Regions from separate parts of the Homo sapiens genome. Here region 1 is linked to region 2. Evidence: promoter capture Hi-C in 16 types of primary human blood cells and fetal thymus (Javierre and others, 2016). All regions are on one chromosome and are shown on one strand. Each heading gives the region's core, a stretch centred on a gene start or on the middle of the fragment in contact. The rest is flanking DNA. Distances are from core to core; before and after follow the strand shown. Region 1 holds the start of MPZL1 (myelin protein zero like 1). Region 2 holds the start of UCK2 (uridine-cytidine kinase 2).

The links. Contacts are between HindIII fragments. The CHiCAGO score rates a contact against its expected background, and 5 or more counts as called.
Region 1: a contact is called between the fragment with the promoter of MPZL1 here and the fragment with the promoter of UCK2 in region 2, in 1 of 17 cell types (fetal thymus). The highest score is 6.3, in fetal thymus.

What each region holds. Positions count from the first base shown.
Region 1 is chr1:167,719,511-167,723,458 of GRCh38, reverse strand. It overlaps MPZL1 (myelin protein zero like 1), which reads right to left and starts at 1,477. Exons shown (of 6, transcript NM_003953.6): 1 at 1,217-1,477. The coding sequence starts at 1,307. RefSeq lists silencers at 838-977, 1,008-1,077, 1,468-1,837 and enhancers at 649-1,149, 3,376-3,875. The HindIII fragment of the contact is 2,037 bases long and covers 441-2,477 here.
Region 2 is chr1:165,825,112-165,829,344 of GRCh38, reverse strand. UCK2 (uridine-cytidine kinase 2) reads right to left here and starts at 1,731. Exons shown (of 7, transcript NM_012474.5): 1 at 1,413-1,731. The coding sequence starts at 1,511. RefSeq lists silencers at 843-1,072, 1,133-1,612, 1,693-1,942 and an enhancer at 824-1,377. The HindIII fragment of the contact is 2,018 bases long and covers 1-2,015 here.

The DNA.
Region 1 (3,948 bases), core at 228-2,727, 1.9 Mb before region 2:
TGTCTTACACAAAGTGTGTCATCATCTGTCAACCCCTGGAGGGTAGGGAGACTTTTACATTTATGCTTTACAGCCCCTGGAATCACTGTTTAAGTGGAACAGTTGGTGATCCAACAGAACTTCACCTAGTTTCCCTGATCCAAGGATTATATTAAGAACTTTTCCATGAAGAAAGAAATTACTGAGTAAACTCTGGTATTCAGATACTGTGATGCTAAATCATAACTGACATTTTGAAAACAAAGGGAATGAAAAAAATCTACGTGGTTTCTTAGCAGCTGGCCCTCTTTATAACTATTATTTAACTAAATTCGGAGACAGCAACAAGTACTTTGCTTTGAACAACAACACAGAAAAGTCCTGTGGCAGATACCACTTCAGATGTCCATAAAACAAGTCATCCAATTCCCATAAATTGAGCCCGAGGTTTACCTTAAGCTTGAGTCACAATATTTGGTAAGAAAAAGGAGCTTTTTTTTTCCTTTAGGAAAATTATGCTTTTTAATGCTCTATGTCTTGTCAAATTATGGTGGCTACGTCTGGAATTATGATGGATTTGACCAAATTCTTTTAAGCCAGGCCATCTCACTGGTATTCCAAGCTCTTTGCATTCTAACCTAGAAGTAACAATATTTTTTTATTGGCGTTTTGCAGACCACGGAAATGAGACTCTTTTATTACGGAGACTTAAAACTGAATGAGAGCATGGGAAAGGGAACTTACAACAAAACCCTGGCTTAACAGGAAACAAATCAACAAAGGCCCTACAAATGAAAAACCTGCAACTTTCCGCCACCTCCCAAAGGTGAAGAACGCCAGAACCCTAGTTCCTGAGTCAGAATCCGGGAGGGCCTAGACGATCCAGAGTCACCACGAGGAGAGGGCAGGGTGCGCCGCGAGGGCTCACCGCAGCCGCCCGCCGGGTCCGCTCCCCTGGACCGCCCCCCGGGAAGGAGCAAGGTAAAGCACTCTCCCCTCCTCCTCCGCACTCCAGGATCCAGGAAAGAGAAGAAAGAGGCTCTGCGCCTTCCCGGCCAGTCGCGGAGGCCCGCGTTCCCCATGGGCTGGGTCCCCTCGGCCCCAGAGAGCGCAGGCCGCGCCCCCTCCCCACCTCGGCTCTCAGTGCGCGCGCCTGGCCTGCGACCGCCGCGATGGGCGTGTGTCGGGCCCGGGGGCCCCACTCCCCGGCCCCAGCCCTGGTCCTGGCATCACTTACAGAGCCCAAGCGCCGCCGCCAGCACCGACCACAGCCAGCGCCGGCTGTCTGGGGCTGCAATCACCGCCCCGGCTCCGGCGGACGCTGCCATCGTCCAGCCACTGCAGTCGCCGCCGCCGCCGCCGCGTCCCTGAGCCCGGGTCCCCGCTGAGGTTGGCTCGGCTTGGGGAAGAGGCTTCTGATCTCTCCGCCACCCGCGCCGGGTGGCACCTCCACGCCGCGCTCCCCACTCCGGTCCCAGCCGCGGCTCTCCAGCTCTGCACCGAAGCCTCAGCCCCACTCCGGCCCTCGCTGTCCGCTCATTGGCCTGCCCGCACCCTTTTAAGGACGCGATTGGAGAGTCAGGCTGTCCATCATCCGTCCGCCGGGAAGGCCCCGCCTCCTCGGTCCCACCCAGGCGCCTCGGCCCCGCGCGGAGGCCGGGTCTGCAGCGGTCCCAGGCCGAGCCGAGCCTTCCGCCTGCCTGCGTGGCTGTCCGCCTGCGGGCCCCACCAGCCAGCGTCTCCTCTGCCTTTCTCAGGGTCCAGTCCCGTGGTCCTCTTCATTGTCTCTCCTCGCCACAGGTCTTTGCTGGGTACTAACCTCGCCTCCGTTTCAGCTCTTCTTGTTCTCTGCCGGCCTCACCTAACGAAAAAGAAGCAATTCATTTACCTTAAAAAGAAAGAAAAGACAGAAAGAAAAATAATGAGGCGTTCAATTGATGGGGGAGAGACTTCTGATTCAGTCGTCCAGGTGGAACACGTTCCCCGTGCCGTGTCCCCAAGGCCTGTCCTTTGCGTGGACTAGATAATGTATGTGTTGCAATTTGCGAAATCTACTAGTTTAAAAAGAAGTCTCCATCTTGCCCTAACCTCCTCTTAGGAACCTCCCTCCTGGCTTCAGAAGGATGGGAATCTGGAACTCTTTCCTACTACCTGAAAAACAAATGAAAATGCTTTTTGATTGTTTTGCTTTCGCATATCTGTGTTCCTGTCTGTGTCCGTGAAAAATAGAAAGCAGAAGTTCCCAACACTGATTCTGAAGTGCCCTGCAGAAGTTCCCGACACTGATTGCTGGCCCTGCTCAACTTGGTTGCCTTGGCCCAGAACAGTCTGCCACCTACGGGTTGTCCAATCAATAGGGGAAATATTTGGAAGGATCCTTATGAAAATGGCTTACAAAAGGGAAAAATGGGGGACAGGGGCACAAGAAAGATGAGTGTGAAGGAGGAAAAGGGAAGATTCAGGTGGGAGGCTGATACGATGAGGAAGGGAAGCAAGCTTTAGACAATTAGGACAAGAGCGGGGGAAGAGTATGGTGAGAACCCAAAATGTAACCTCTCACTTCAGGGTTTTTGTCTAAGGTCAGTCTTAACAATGCCATTCCTGATATCTGTGCTGTTTCAGCTAACATTGCAGTACAGCGAAATCATAAGAACATTAGTGAGAAAAAAACTTAAAAAAAAAAAATACCAGAACCACTTTGCCCTATTTCTGTCAGCAGATCCTTTTGAAGTTGTATCTCAAATGCCATAGGTTGGAAAAGATACCAATGCATTAATTGAACCATGGATGTAGAACACCTGGGCTTTACTCTCAAGAAGCACATCGTCTACTAGTGTACACAAACAAGTACTCAATTACATTTGTAAAAATGAGGGCCGGGTGCGGTGGCTCACACTTGTAATCCCAGCACTTCGGGAGGCCGAGGCGGGCAGATCACGAGGTCAGGAGTTTGAGACCAGCCTGGCCAGCGTAGTGAAACCCCATCTCTACTAAAAGATACAAAAAAATTAGCCGGGCATGGGTGGCGCGTGACTGTACCCAGCTACTCGGGTGGCTGAGGCAGGAGAATCGCTTGAACTGAGAGAAGAGAGACAGAACCTCTCATATAGTTTTATACTCAGAAAAGGAAAGAGAAGCGAAATTAAAGGCAGGTAACCCGGCGCCTAAGAACCAGACCCGAAACCAGGCCTGGGCCTGCCTGACCTAAGCCCGGTAGTTAAAGATCGACCCCTGACCTAACCGGTTATGTTATCTATGGATTCCAGACATTATATGGAAAGGCATTGTAAAAATCCCTGTCCTGTTCTGTTTCGTTCTGATTACCGGTGCATGCAGCCCCCATTCACAGTACCCTCTGCTTGCTCAATTGATCATGACCCTCTCACGCGGACCCCCTTAGAGTTGTGAGCCCTTAAAAGGGACAGGAATTGCTCACTCGGGGAGCTAGGCTCTTGAGACAGGAGGCTTGCCGATACTTCCGGCCGAATAAACCCCTTCCTTCTTTAACTCCGTGTCTGAGGAGTTTTGTCTGCGGCTCATCCTGCTACAGAACCTGGGAGGCAGAGGTTGCAGTGAGACGAGATCACGCGCCATTGCACTCCAGCCTGGGCGACAGGGCGAGACTCCGTCTCAAAAAAAGGAAGAGTGAATAAAGAAGAAACCCAAGGCCAGCAGGGACAGTGACTCTCAGCAGTGTTTAAAGCTTCTCTGCTGATTGTGATGTACCTCAGCCACATATACCTCGCTCTCCTAAAATCCACTGGCCCAAGAAGCATCTAGAAAGATTCACCAAGGATAAAACATTTAAGGTGAACTTTAAAAGATGAATAATTCACCAGAGAGAAAACAGGAAAAGCAAACTCAGAGAACGGAGAAAACAGGAAAAGCACATTCAGAGAAAAGAAATCACCTACCAAGTGTGAGAAACATTAGGTGAATCCTTTGTGGTTTGCAACTTGAGGGGAGTGA
Region 2 (4,233 bases), core at 482-2,981:
TGAAGGGCTAGCATTCTGGTTTTGCTTTGAATTACTAGTATAAGTCATAGTAAAGAACATACTCAAAAATTACAAATTTTTTTAAAAGCCTTCAACCAGGGAGCACACAGAACAGAAACTTCAGGACCTAAAGCAGGCCGATTCCTAACCCCGGGAGCTACGGACGAGATCAACTTCATCAATAAAGAAGTCCAGCAGCGCCAGCCGCCGTGTCTGGCTGGGCTCCTTGCGCTAAAGTAGTCCAGACCAGGAGGGAAAAATGTAAAACCAACATGGAGGAGGGGCTACTGACGAGTCGGTTCGGGAGCTAAAACCTCGTGGCTCTTTCCTCATGGCGCCAACCAGCCTTCCTGCTCTGCTCTCCCCAGCCGGGAGAAGCATCATCCTGCCTCTCCAAACCAGCACCCAGCACCCAGCTCTCAGGATCCCTTGAGGAACCCGTGCTCCAAATGAAGTTGGAGGGTGTTAAACGGTGGGAAAAACAAGTAGCCACATCTTAAAGGCTGTTAGGGGAGCAAAGAAAGAACCATCTGGGAGGACTCCACCCTTCTCCACCTGCAGAAAAAACCCCGGGTAAAGCTAGGAAGTCATTTCCCTTGTCTCTCCTTGCCTTGCGGATAAAACAAAGGAAACAGGCTCCTAAGAGGGTCAGACACCCATACGATGACCCCCTTCCGTGGATCCAAGACGCGTACGTCCTGGACACCGAAGAGCTTGGAGCCAGTACAACTTTCTCATTGAAGCCGACCACGTTTCCTCTTATAACCTTAAAAAACAGAAGCCCCTACTATTATCGTTTCATTGATGTCACGGCACCTATTTGGCTCTCAGACTTTTACCCGGAAACCCCTGTAATCCCCAGCCCTTGCGTGCAGCCCCACACTGGGCTCCCCTTCCCCGGGATGCCGCCTCGCGCGTTCCCGCCACCCTCGCCCTCTCGGCCGCGCTTCCCGGCTCGCTCCGCCCTCGGCACCAGGCTGCGCCGCGGGGCGAGCACGTCTGTGCCAGACCGGGGCTTGAGGGAGTCCATCGGGGGTTAGTGGGGGATCCTGCGGAAAGCCCTCTCCCCCGACACTGGAGTTGCAAAACAATAAGCATCCGCTTCCCTGCCCTTCCCCCATAGGACCCCGGCCACGAGTTATTAACGCGGGGGGAGAAAAGCCGGAGGAGCACTCCCGCCCTGCGATCGTGGCCGCGTACCCCCGGAACCCCCAAGGCCCGAGTCTTCGCCTGCCCCCGCCGCAGCGCCCCCAGGCCGCGCGGGGCGCACTCGGCGCTGGAGCGCGGCCGGGAGCGGAGGCGCGCGGGCCACGCGGTGGCTGCCGCAACTGACACGGCCCGCGGCCGCCGGCCACATGCGCCGCCCAGGGACAGAAGCCGGGAAGGGAGCGCGGCTCCGGGCCCCGCCGTACCTTGCCGCTAGCTGTTCCCCCGCTGACGCCTATAAGGAAGGGCTCGCCGCCGTTGGGCTGCTGGTGGTTCTGCAGGGTCTGCTCGCTGTCCCCGGCCATGGTTCGCGCCGCCCCTCCTCCCGCTGCCTGTGCGAACGGACGCACGCTCCCCGCCCGCGCCCGCGTCGGACTCCCTCCGCTTTCCGCAGCCGCCGCTGGGCGCTGCCGGGGCTGAGGCCGCTGTCGCTCGCCTGCGAGCCGCTCGGAGCCCGGTGACGGGGCTGGGTTTCCCGAAGGAGCCAAGAGCCTTCCTTTGCCCGCAGCGGCTGGTCCGGTTTACATCCCAGGCAGAGGTCAGCGTGATGCTGCTGCTCCAATCCGGGCGGGCAGCGCGCTGCTATTCGCCGAGGCGGAGGCGGCGAGGCGTCTGGCCCCAGCCTCCGCCCCTCCCGGGCCCCGCCGCCGCCCGAGGTCTCTGCGAAAGGTGTGAGCCCGACCTTCCCTCCCACCCGCCCGGTTAACCCTTTCTCCGACGCGCCCTAGTGGACCCTGGGGGAAAGAAACAGGCTGTTCTGTATTTTAATTTGGTATGCTACCACCTATTTTCAGAAGGGATAAAAAGCTTGAAGGAAATAATAGGCAGATTAGATAAGAAGGAATGGCCCAGGTTTGAGAAGCAAAATTTGAACAAGCTTGAAAGATTAGTGTGGAACGAAGAGTTAATGTCATTTACCCATTATCCAGGCTAAAAACTTGTGTTTCCAAAAAATGAGGGTTCTTTTTCCCTTCTCCCGTTCGCCAAGATAATATGTCAGCCGCTGGCTTTAGATATTTCCTGTCTTGGAAACCCCCCAGCGCCATCCTTTTTAGCAGGCCTGTCCTCGTGCGACTCTCTAGTGAAGGGCAATTTGAGGGGCTTATCTGAAGGGTGCCCTCCGTTGGAAAAGCAATTCCCTTCTAAACCACAGTATCTCATCCCATACACTGAGCTTCCTATGGAGTTAGGGTATCTGAAAACATACTGACATTTTGATCCATTAATATCTTCAATTGAACGGTTTTCCAGAGATTGGCAATCAGTCACTTAGAAAGGCAGTTTCAGACTCCACCTCTGGAGCCAGATTTCTGCATTCACATCCAGGTCCCTGAGCAAGTTACTTAATCTCTCTGTGCTTCAGTGTTCTTATCTGTTAAATGGGAATAATAATGGCAATTACATCCCAGGATTTTTGTGAGAATTAAATGAATTAGTGTATGTAAAGTTCTCAGAACAGTGCTGGTACAGTCTAGGCCCTGTATTAGTGTTTGAAGAGAAAAGGTTTCTAAAGCGCTGAAACTGGAAAGAAAAGTTTTGCTGGGACACACCTGAGAGAGGCAGGACTAGCCTAGTAACTTCCAGTCTCTTCTCCTGTGAACTTGGGACTAGTATCAATGAGCTGATGGGGCCTACAATCTAAAACAGAATTTACGTCAATAGCATTATCTTTTGAAACTTAGTAAATTACCTTAAATTGAAGATTATTTTGAAAAAAATAATTTTCTCTCAAGCCAGGGAAATCGAGGCTGCAGTGAGCCATGATCTCCCCACTGCACTCCAGCCTGGTCAGCAGAGCCAGAGCCTGTGTCAAAAAACAAAAACAAAAACAAAACAAAACAAAAAAAAGGATACCAGAGAAAACAAACTTTTTTCACTTTTAAATTAAAGTTGACACTTGAACAACACTGGTTCAAACTGTGAGGTTCACTTTTATGCAGCTTTTTTTTTAAACCAAGGGCAGATGGAAAACACAATATTTGTGCAGTTTCCTCAGGACTGACTGTGGGACTTCATGTGTGGATTTGGTTACATGTAGGCTGTCCTGGGACCAGTCCCTCCGCATATATCTAGGAATTACTGTATTTTATGTCACCATCTAACATCAAACTCGGTAGCAGCTCAGACAGGAGACAAAGATGGGGAGAGTGGCCACTACCTGGTACCCAGAAGCAGGCATTTGGGTGAAGTTTCCTAAAGGGGTGCCTTACCAAATAGCTATGGAGTGGGTGAGTTTTAGGTGGTCCTAGAGTTAGCCTCTTCTCCAAAAGGTCTTTTCTCTACTAGATAGATTTATTAGTCATCATGGACTTTTGTAGAACTCTTTATAGCCCATTGGAATTTGGAAGTTGAACCTACAGCTAAGGGTTAGCATGGGGATATTAGGTAGTTAAGGAGAAGAGGAGGAGGATAAAGGAATGCCAAAGGCCAGTGGGGTGGCTCATGCCTGTAATCCCAACATTTTGGGAGGCAGAAGAGTGAGGATCACTTGAGGCTAGGAGTTTGAGACCAGCCTGGGCAACATAATGAGACCCCCATCTCCACAAAAAGTACAAAAATTAACTGGGCATGGTAGTGCACACCTGTAGTCCCAGCTACACCAGAGGCTGAGGCAGGAGGATCACTTGAGCCCAGGAGTTCGAGGTTGCAGCTGTGATCATGCCATTGCACTCCTCTATCGACTTGTCTCTTAAAAAAAAAAAAAGAATGCCATGTCTTTCATAAACTTTTCTCAAATCTGCATCTTCCTTGTCATTCCTATAGTGTTTATTCCATAATATTTTATCATAAAAATTTTCGAGCACAGTTGAAAGATTTTACAGCAAACACCAGTATACCCACCACCTAGACTCTATCACTAACATCGTACTATATATATACTTGCTTTAAAACATAACTGGTCATCTACCCATCCCTCTATCCATCAAGGCATTTTTATTATAGGACTTACTTCCTTTTGCTTTGTTAATTTTAATTGACTTACTCCACACTGGCTTATACATTTCTTGTTTGGTTTGTTTTGTTTTG